Linked DNA regions of Homo sapiens: region 1 is linked to region 2. Evidence: promoter capture Hi-C in 16 types of primary human blood cells and fetal thymus (Javierre and others, 2016). All regions are on one chromosome and are shown on one strand. Each heading gives the region's core, a stretch centred on a gene start or on the middle of the fragment in contact. The rest is flanking DNA. Distances are from core to core; before and after follow the strand shown. Region 1 holds the start of CCNI2 (cyclin I family member 2). Region 2 holds the start of RAD50 (RAD50 double strand break repair protein).

Evidence for each region. Contacts are between HindIII fragments. The CHiCAGO score rates a contact against its expected background, and 5 or more counts as called.
Region 1: a contact is called between the fragment with the promoter of CCNI2 here and the fragment with the promoter of RAD50 in region 2, in 1 of 17 cell types (fetal thymus). The highest score is 5.7, in fetal thymus.

What each region holds. Positions count from the first base shown.
Region 1 is chr5:132,744,249-132,749,057 of GRCh38, reverse strand. It overlaps CCNI2 (cyclin I family member 2), which reads right to left and starts at 1,632. Exons shown (of 6, transcript NM_001039780.4): 1 at 1,134-1,632; 2 at 583-711. The coding sequence starts at 1,562. RefSeq lists silencers at 1,270-1,459, 1,480-1,549, 1,560-1,979 and an enhancer at 2,070-2,149. The HindIII fragment of the contact is 9,894 bases long and covers 102-4,809 here.
Region 2 is chr5:132,554,744-132,559,713 of GRCh38, reverse strand. RAD50 (RAD50 double strand break repair protein) reads right to left here and starts at 2,737. Exons shown (of 25, transcript NM_005732.4): 1 at 2,261-2,737; 2 at 347-430. The coding sequence starts at 2,389. It also overlaps a transcript of IL5 not described here. RefSeq lists an enhancer at 2,454-3,114. The HindIII fragment of the contact is 3,439 bases long and covers 1-2,979 here.

The sequences.
Region 1 (4,809 bases), core at 383-2,882, 190 kb before region 2:
TCTCCAACTCCTGACCTCAAGTGATCCACACCCCTTGGCCTCCCAAATTGCTGGGATTACAGGCGTGAGCCATTGCGCCCAGCCGTTTGTTTTAATAAGCTTTTTTTTCCCATTTTTAAAAGGCTCAATTTCTCCACAAGACAGAATGTTAGTGCCGTTTTTAGATCTGACCAACGAAGATGCTCCTGATTTCAGAACTGCAGATGACTGGGCAGTATTCCTTCATTTCGGGACTGACTGGAGGTGGGAAATATGGCACCTTCTCAGGGAACCCAGTCTCATCCTAGCCTCAAGCTGCCCTCGACAGGTCGAGACAAGCACATCCTACCTCATTACACAGGAAGCCCTTTCCCAGCTAGGTCCTCTCACGCTCCCCAAGTCCAATCCTGATGACTACATGACCCTGAGACAGCCAGTGTAGGATGTGGAGAGGTTCCAACACCAGCTCTTCCACTCGGAGCAAGTTAGTTTATACACCTTGGTTTTGAGCATCTGGAAACCCTCACCTCTCAAGCAGGAATGGGGAGCAAAGGTTAGTTTCTTCTCTCACCATCTGCCACCGTCCCTCAGAGGCCTCCCTACCTTCACTGAAATCAGGAGGCGGCCAAAGATGGTGAGGGCCAGGTTAAAAGTGGACTGGGAGAAGTAAAAGGTGTTCTGAAGCCGCAGGAGCCACAGCACGACTTCCTCGAAGGCGTCGCAGATTTCATCCTGCTAGGAAGAAGAGCAGGTGGGGCGAGGAAGGTCGCTAGCGGCCACTCCTGGTCCCCCAGCAGCAGGAGCCTCCTGCTTAAGGTGCGGGGGGTGGGGCAGTGAGAAGTCCCTTCCTCTGCATGCCCGCTGGGAGTAAGCGCCCCCCGGCGCAGCGGCTCACCCATCACCCCCACCCCTCGCGCCCACTTTTCGTCGTAGGCTGAGTTCCTTGATTCAAACAGGCCCTCTTCCGAAGGCCCTGCTAGCAAGACGCCCTCCTAGAGAGAAGCTGGTGGATCCAGCCTCGTGCCTCTCGTGAGGGGCCACACCTGGGGAAGGGCCCGGCCTCCAGTTTCAGAACACCCGAGCGCGGGTGCAGGTGGAGGCCACATCCGCCTGCCGTGCACGCGCGAGGAGGGCCACGCGGCAGCGACGGGTACCTGGGGTTTGCCGCCCCGCCACAGGCGCGCCTCGCGGTCCTGGGCCAGCTGCAAGTGGCAGAGCAGCCGGCGCTCGTCCAGGTCGCCTTCCAGGTTGCGCGGCTTGCGGGACTGTGGAGCCGGCCGCGGAGCTTGCTCTGGGGCGGCGGCGGGGACCGCGTCTGCGGTTTTCCCGGCTGGCGCCGTACCGCGCCGGGGCCGCACGGGGACTGCTGCGGACGCCGCGTGGAGGGAGGCCGCTCCGGGCTGGCGGGTCCCAGGGCACCTGCTCCGGTTGCTTCGGGGCAGAGGGGCCTCCCCCGGAGACGGCGGGAGAGGAACGCCCAGGGCTGTTTCCTCCAGACCGGCGCCGGGACGCCCGCCTGGGCTCTGGACGGCGCTGACCTCTGAGCTCGACGGCTGCGGCGGGAGCTGAGCGCCCGAGGCCATGTCGTGAGCGGGATCCTGAGTCTGAGTTGCCGCTTAACCCGGCATTTTATAACCCAGCTCCCGGAACACTGCAGCCTGGGGCGCCGCCGGGGGAGGTGGGGAGGCGGGCTCGGCGGGCCCCACCCACAACGCTCGCGGTGGAGCTACCTCTGGCGCACCGGGCCGCGCCTCGCCTCCTGGGCACTCGCCCCGCGGGTGGGCGGCGCGCACCCAGGATGCGGCAGGACTGGGCGCGCACAGGCGGGTGGCGGACCCCCTCCCTTCCCTCCATCCCCGCTGCTGCCTAGCGCACGCCTCCTCCCCCCTGCCGGCCGTGCTCCCTGAGCAGAGCCCCCAGCCAGGGGTGGGGCGGCTGGAGACTGCGCCCGCCTTGGGCCAGGACTCCCGGACACAGACCCTGGGTCTTACCTCACATTACACACTTGGGGACACAAGACCAGGTAAAGAAGCAGCGAGAGCGCCCTCCTCAGACAGGCTTGAAATGGAATTCCAGACGCGCTGTGTGATCTCATGCATGTGTCGTGACCTCTCAGAGCCTTGGCTACCTCTTCTCCGAAAAAAAAAGTGATAATACCTCCCTCACAAGGTGATTCATTCATATACATATATGTTTATGTATCTATACATACATATATAGCTATAAACGTATAATAAGGAAAATCATACAAATCATATATATGTATACACATACATACATAAATTTTAGGGGTGGATCTTGCTATGTTGCCCAAGCTGGAGTGCAGTGGCTATTCTCAGGTGTGATCGCAGCACACTACAACCTCAAACTCCTGGACTCAAGCTACCCTCAACCTCAGCTTCTCAAGTAGCTGAGACTTACAGGTGCACACCACCACACCTGGCTCCTAAGTTATATTTTGTTTAAAAAATTCATTACATTAAATGTATATTAAAAATATATGGGAATACCAGAAGGACAAGAAAGAGAGGAACAGAAGAAATATTTGAAACAATAACGACTGAGAATGAATATTTCCAAATTAATGCCAAACACCAAACCACAATTCTAGGAAGCTCTGAGAACATTAAGCAAGATAAATGCCAAGAACTACACCTAGACATTCCTATTTAAACCGTAGAAAATCAAAAGAAACTATCAACAGAGTCAGCAGACAACCTATAGAGTGGGAGAAAAGTATTAGCAAAGTAAGCATTCGACAAAGGTCTTAATATCCAGAATCTGTAAGGAATTTAATTAAACAAGCAAAAAACAACCCCATCAAAAAACAGGCAAAAAGACATGAATAGACTTCTCAAAGGGAGATATACAAGTGGTCAACAAACATGAAAAAATGCTCCACATCACTAATCATCAGAGTAATGCATCTCACACCAATCAGAATGGCTACTATTAAAAAGTCAAAAACCAACAGACGCTGGTGAGGCTGCAGGGAAAAGGGAATGCTTATACACTGCTGGTGGTAATGTAAATTAGTTCAGTCACTGTTGAAAGCAGTTTAGAGATTTCTCAAACAACTTAAAACAGTACTATTCAACCCAGCAGTCCCTTTACTGGGTATATACGCAAAAGGAAAATAAATTGTTCTACCATAAAGACACATACATTTGCATGTTCATCACAGTACTAGTCACAGTAGCAAAGACATGGAGTCAACCTAGGTGCCCTTCAGTGATCGACTGGATAAAGAAAATGTGGTACATATACAATATGGAATACTATGTAGTCATTAAAAAGAATGAAATCATGTCCTTTGTAGCAAACATGGATGAAGTTGGAAGCTATTATTCCAAGCAAATGAACACAGGAACAGAAAATTATATACTACATGCTCTCACTTTTAAGCGAGCATTGAGTACACATGGACGTAAAGATGGCAACAGTAGACACTGGAGGCTACCAGAGCGGGGAGGGAAGGAGGGGACAAGGGTTGGATAACTATGGGGTACTGTGCTCAGTACCTGGGTGACAGGATCATTCATACCCCAAATATCAGCATTGCACAATATACCAGAATCTAAAATAAAAGTTGAAAAAAGCCTGCAGGAAATCAAGATTAAAAAAAAAAAATCTCAAAAGAAGCTGGCCTGTAATCTCAGCACTTTGGGAGGCTGAGGTGGGCGGATCACTTGAGGTCAGGAGTTCAAGACCAGCCTGGCCAATATGGTGAAACCCTGTCTCTACTAAAAATACAAAATTAGCCAGGTGTGGTGGCACATGTCTGTAGTCCCCGCTACTCAGGAGGCTGAGGCACAAGAATCGCTTGAATCCAAGAGGTGGAGGTTGCAGTAAACTGAGATCATGCCACTGCACTCCAGCCTGGGTGACAGAGGGAGACTCCATCTCAAAAAAAAGAAAAGAAAAGAAAAAAGAAAGAAAGAAAGAAAGAAAGAGCAAGCAAAGCTGGGAGCAGGAGCTGGGTAGGATGAGGTGGAAATAAGATAAGGTGGGATAAGGATAAGAATCACATTGGACTTGTCTTCGGAAATCATGCAAGCAAGAAGAGAGTGGGGTGAAATATTTAAAATTTTGAGAGAAAACCCCCACCATCCTAGAATTCTGTATTCAGTGAAATTATCCTTCAGAAGTGAAAGAGAAATACTTTTACAAACAAAATTGAAGGTATTTCTCACCAGTAGACCTGCTTTGCAAGAAATGTTAAAAGAAATTTTTCAGAGAGAAGGAAAATGATATAGGTCATAAATTTCGACATAAAGAAAGAACTTTAAGGAATAAGTGAAAGTAAAATAAAACTTTTGTTTTTCTTATTCCTAATTGATCTAATAATCATTTATTCAAAATAATAATAATGTATTTGATGATTGTAGGTTATGGATAAGTTGAATGAATGACAATAATGATACTAGCCATGAGAGGGAAGAATTAAGAATACTTTGTTTTAAGTTACCTGCATTACCTGGAAAGCAGTATAATGTTACTTGAAAGTGGACTTGAATTAGTTATAAATGTATATTGCCAACTCTAGGGCAACCAGCAAAAAAAGTTTTTAAAAAGTATAATTCATATGCACTAAGAAAGGAGAGAAAATGGAATCATATAAAATGCTAATAACACCAGATGGTAGCTTGAATCCACAGGAAACAAGGAAGAGAACGAGAAATAATAAGAAGATTAATATTACAAATTATAAATATAAACTTGGCTCTGTTTTCTTCTCTCGGCTACTTTGGAAGATTTAAAATACATAAAATTTTATAACATAAAGTTATAACAAAGTATTGTTTGGTTTATAACATGTAAATGTAATCC
Region 2 (4,970 bases), core at 1,488-3,987:
AAGTAGAAAATATCTCAGACATACAAAGCAGTATAAAGATTAAAAGAAACACTTACATACCAAACACCCAGATGATAGTTTTTTAATGACATAGGACTTCATGATAATGTTAAGTGGGGAAAAAAACCCAGAATACAAAATTAAGAGTATGACATCAGCTATATAAAACAGTATTTAAAGGAGGAGGAAAACACATGAAAATGTCAACAACGGTTACTACTGGGTGCTAAAACTGTGTGGGGCTGACTTTCATTTCTCTTTATAGTTTTCCAGTGCCAAGTTTTCTATAATAAGCTATTATCATTTTTATAATTATAAAAATACAAAATTGTACTAGCACCATTACCTTGGGATCGTGTACAAATGTATTTCCTTTGGTTCCAGGAGGGAAATCTCCAGTACAAATATATTTTAGACATTCAATGATGGTCTAAAGAAATAGAAAATTACATTATTTCGTTATAAGAGAACCACAGAAGTTTACCATAAAATATGAATTCATTACAAAAATATTATTTATCATGGAAACTATAAAAGATAAAATCTGACATTATAAAACCTGTAATAAAAATATGATTAAGTGTTAATGCTGTAAGTTCACAGAAATGCTATATAACTAAGAAGTTATCCTAATATGAAGAATTGTTACTTGGGAAAAAAATAATTATTTTCAACTGAAACCCTTTAAACTAATTTAAGTTAATAATAAGAATGGCTAACAGTTAAGTACTGTATTGTACTAAGCACTCTTACATACATTTATTTAATTCTCACATTAACTCCAGGCTGTAGGAACTTTTTGTTTAAGAGACAGGGTCTCATTCTGCTGCCCAGGCTGCAGTGCAGCTGCATGATCATGGCTTACTGCAGCCTCGACCTCTCGACCTCCTGGGCTCAAGCAATCCCCCAGCCTCAGCCTCCCAAACGGCTCGGATTACAGTCGTCAGCCACCATGCCCAGCCTGTAGAAACTTTTTTTTTTTTTTTTTTTTTTTTGTGGGGGGAGAGAGTCTCCCTCTGTCACCCAGGCTGGTGTAGTGCAATGGCGTGATCTCGGCTCACTGCAACCTCCACCTCCCCGGTTCAAGCGATTCTCCCGCCTCGGCCTCCCCAGTAGCTAGGATTACAGGCATGCGCCACCACGCCTGGCTAATTTTTGTATTTTTATTAGAGATGGGGTTTCGCCACGTTGGCCAGGCTGGTCTCGAACTCCTGACCTCAGGTGATCCACCCGCCTCGGCCTCCCAAAGTGCTGGGATTACAGGCGTGAGCCACCGTGCCCAGCTGTAGAAACTATTTTTAATCTCCATTTTATAAATGAGAAAACTAAGGCACAGAGCAGTGAGGTCACTCGCAAACAATCAGACAACTAATAAATGAAGCGAAAAAGCTGTATTGAGGCAGCCAGTCCTCATAAACACTATACAGTACTACTCTCCCTTCTGCTAGTATTTAGTACAATCCTAAGTACATAACAAGCATTCAACAAATAACATTTTTACAAAAACAAAAGTAAACAAGTTTGGCATTCAATTCTCAACCTTCTCTCTTTCTACACTCTTCACAAATCCTTCCTTTAGACTCTTCTCCCTGCTATACTGACATCGTCTTGCTTTTTCTTAAGCCACTATTCCTGACCAGAATGCCTCTTGGTTATTCTTTCCATTCAAATTTATAAATATTCCCACGGCTTTAAAAAAAAAAAAAAGTCAGTCGTGCACCAACGTTAAATTTTTGACTGAGTTTTAAGAAGAGAAGTTTTCCAAGTTAAGCCCCACTACATCAGTTACATTTTGAATTTATTTATTTTCCATGTATTATGTCTGGACAGTTGGCATACTTGGAAACTCTTTAGTCATGTATGTATCATTTTATAACTTTTAAAGGAATTCTTGTATGGGACAACTACTGGGAAGTGAATGCTATGCTTTGAAAGCAAGGAGACAGCGTTAAAAACATCAATACAGACCAAAGGGCATCCAGTGGGAACTGAACTCTGAGTGAGCGGCGACAGCTCCCGGTATCGTGGGATTCTTAAGTAAACCTTGTCCCCAGGCCAGGTCCGGACATCCTTCCGAGACTGCTTCAGGCAAACTCCTAAGGTCGCTGTAGCCTGCAGGCCACACCCTAAGGCACTTTAAGGGCCTACACCTGTGGAGCCCTAGGGACGCTTCTGCTCCTAAGGAGAGTTCTCAACTTCCCATTTTATTCTCCGAAAGATGTAGCGACCTGTAAACTGAAGGCGGCTACTGAAGACTTACCGTCTTTCCCGCCCCATTGGGTCCAACCAAAATTGTAAGGGGGCTGAAGAAAGTGATAATTTGCTTATCTTTGTCCTCTATTCCAAAACTCCGCACGCCCAGAATGCTCATCTTTTCGATCCGGGACATGTTTGCAAACGTTTCTAATCTCACCAGGGACCTGGAGCCCACAAAGGCTTAACTGAGGCCGAAGCAAGGCGTGCACGGGACGTGAGACCCGCGAATCTCAGGGTCAGGAGGATCCGGGCGGGGAGCGAGGCCACAGGACTGCCAAAAGATCCTGCCAGCCAACAGCGGGAGAGAGGGGGCGGGGGATGGAGCCTTTCCTCCCACACCAGCTGCTTTCCCCGCCGGTGGGGAGAGCGGAGGCGGGGACCAGCCTGGGGCTGCCCGCCGGGGACGCAAAGCCGTAGCCACAATGCGACCCCGCAACCGCGCACTCACAGCTTCCTGCCTCGGCCGCCCTGCGGATCACGTGGGCCTCTAGGCCCGCACGCGTCCACGCCGCTCTCCTGGGGCACGCCGGGAAATCAGAGTCCCGCGGTGCGTGCGCAGCTCCGACTTCCGGGTGCGGTACGGCGAAGCAGAGGGCTAGGTGCTGGGTGCTGTTGCCAGGGGCAGCGGACTTCCGGATCTTTGCTGGGGATGGGCAGCCTGGAGAGGCACTGACTTTTGGAAGGGGAGACCAAGACCTGTGACGGATGGCGCTTCCCAAAGCTTGATCCTGGGACTCCTGGAATGGGGGTAGTGGTGGGGTGGATTGGAGACCCAGGAAGCGGGGTCAGTTCGTGTCAAAACTATTTTCCTTTTCATTCTCATTCTCTCTCTAACGTTCGTGTAGTAATTTCCAGTGATCACATAACATGTGATGACGCCATTGCAGTGGCGGTTAATGGAATGTGCGCATGTGTATTCTTGCGCTTAGAAATACCAATTTTAATTTCTAATTGAGTAAATGTTGATAATTATAACTCACGTACACGCTCTTTGAGGTCCCCCGTAATTTTTTAGTGTAAAGGCGTCTTTAAGACCAAAAGTCTGGGAACTAAAACTAAAAGCAGTCTGCAAATATGAAGAATGTAGAGGTAATCCATTCCGATCAGTGCTCCCAGCAATAGATATCTTTAAAAATAAGGGAAAGAGAAGTTACCTGTCTCAGAAGTAACTGAGAATATTGCTTTCTTGGAAACAAACTTAATGGAGGGATATCACATTTAAGGGCCTAGAGAAACATACATAAAAATTACTGAAACAATAGTGGAGGACATTTAAATGAAACACAAATTTGGAATTACTGTAGTGGTATAATTTGCCTCTGCCTGCCTTGGAAAAATGTAGGAAATGTTTCTCCAGTCATACAATCCCAAGCAAATAATTTACAGAACCTAATACATAAATGTATGTGCCAAAGGATGCAAGTGGGGAAGACCAGTGAGAAATAGTCTCTTGCTGTACCAGGTTAAAAAAAACCGGAAAGTGTCAGTTATTACAAAATAGTTAAAATAACTAATGGAACAAAACATTAAAATTATATAGGAATGTCTTACTTGGCAAAGCAAATGTAATAAAACAATGGGAAAAGACGAAAGACCTTTTTTTATTTTAAAAATTGTAAAATACACATAAAATTTACTGTCTTGGCCAGGCGCGGTGGCTCACGCCTGTAATCCCAGCACTTTGGGAGGCCGAGACGGGTGGATCACGAGGTCAGGAAATGAAGACCATCCTGGCTAACACGGTGAAACCCCGTCTCTACTGAAAACACAAAAAATTAGCCGGGCATGGTGGCAGGCGCCGATGGTCCCAGCTACTCAGGAGGCTGAGGCAGGAGTATGGCATGAACCCGGGAGGCGGAGCTTGCAGTGAGCCGAGACCGCACCACTGCACTCCAGCCTGGGCAACAGAGCGAGACTCCGTCTCAAAAAGAATTTACTATCTTAACCAAGTGTACATTTCAGTGGTGTTAAGTATACTCACGTACAACCGTCACCACCTTTCAACCTCTACAAATCTTTTCACTTTGCAAAACAAACTACCCATTAAACAATAACCCTTTCCTCCCCACATCCTCCAAACCCTGACAACCAACATTCTACTTACTGTCTCTATAATTTTTTACTAAGTACCTCATATAAGTGGAATCATACAGTATTTATCTTTTTGTGACTGGCTCATTTCACTTATAATGTCCTCAAGGTTCATCCATGTTGCAGCTCAGTCCCCAACCCCTGGGTCACTGACCAGTATGCATACCTGGCCTGTTAGGAACCTGGTGGCACAGTAGGAGGTGAGCAGCAGGTGAGTGAACATTACCACCCGAGCTGGGCCTCAGATCAGTGGGGGCATTAGATTCTCATAGGAGCACAAACCGTATTTTGAACTGCCCATGAGAAAGATGTAGGTTGCCCCATGCAAGGGATCTAGCTTGCCCATTCCTTATGAGAATCTAATGCCTGATGATGTGAGGTCGAACAGTTTCATCCCAAAACCATCACCCCACTCCTGTCTGTGGAAAAACTGTCTTCCGTGAGACTGGTCCCTGGTGCCAAAAAGGTTGGGGACCACTGTAGCATATATCAGAATTCAGGTCGTTTTTAAGGTTGAATAAGATTCATTACAATACACATCACATTTTGCTTATCCATCTATTGATGGACATTTGGGTTACTTTCACGTTTTAGCTATTGTGAATAGTGTGGCTATATATATT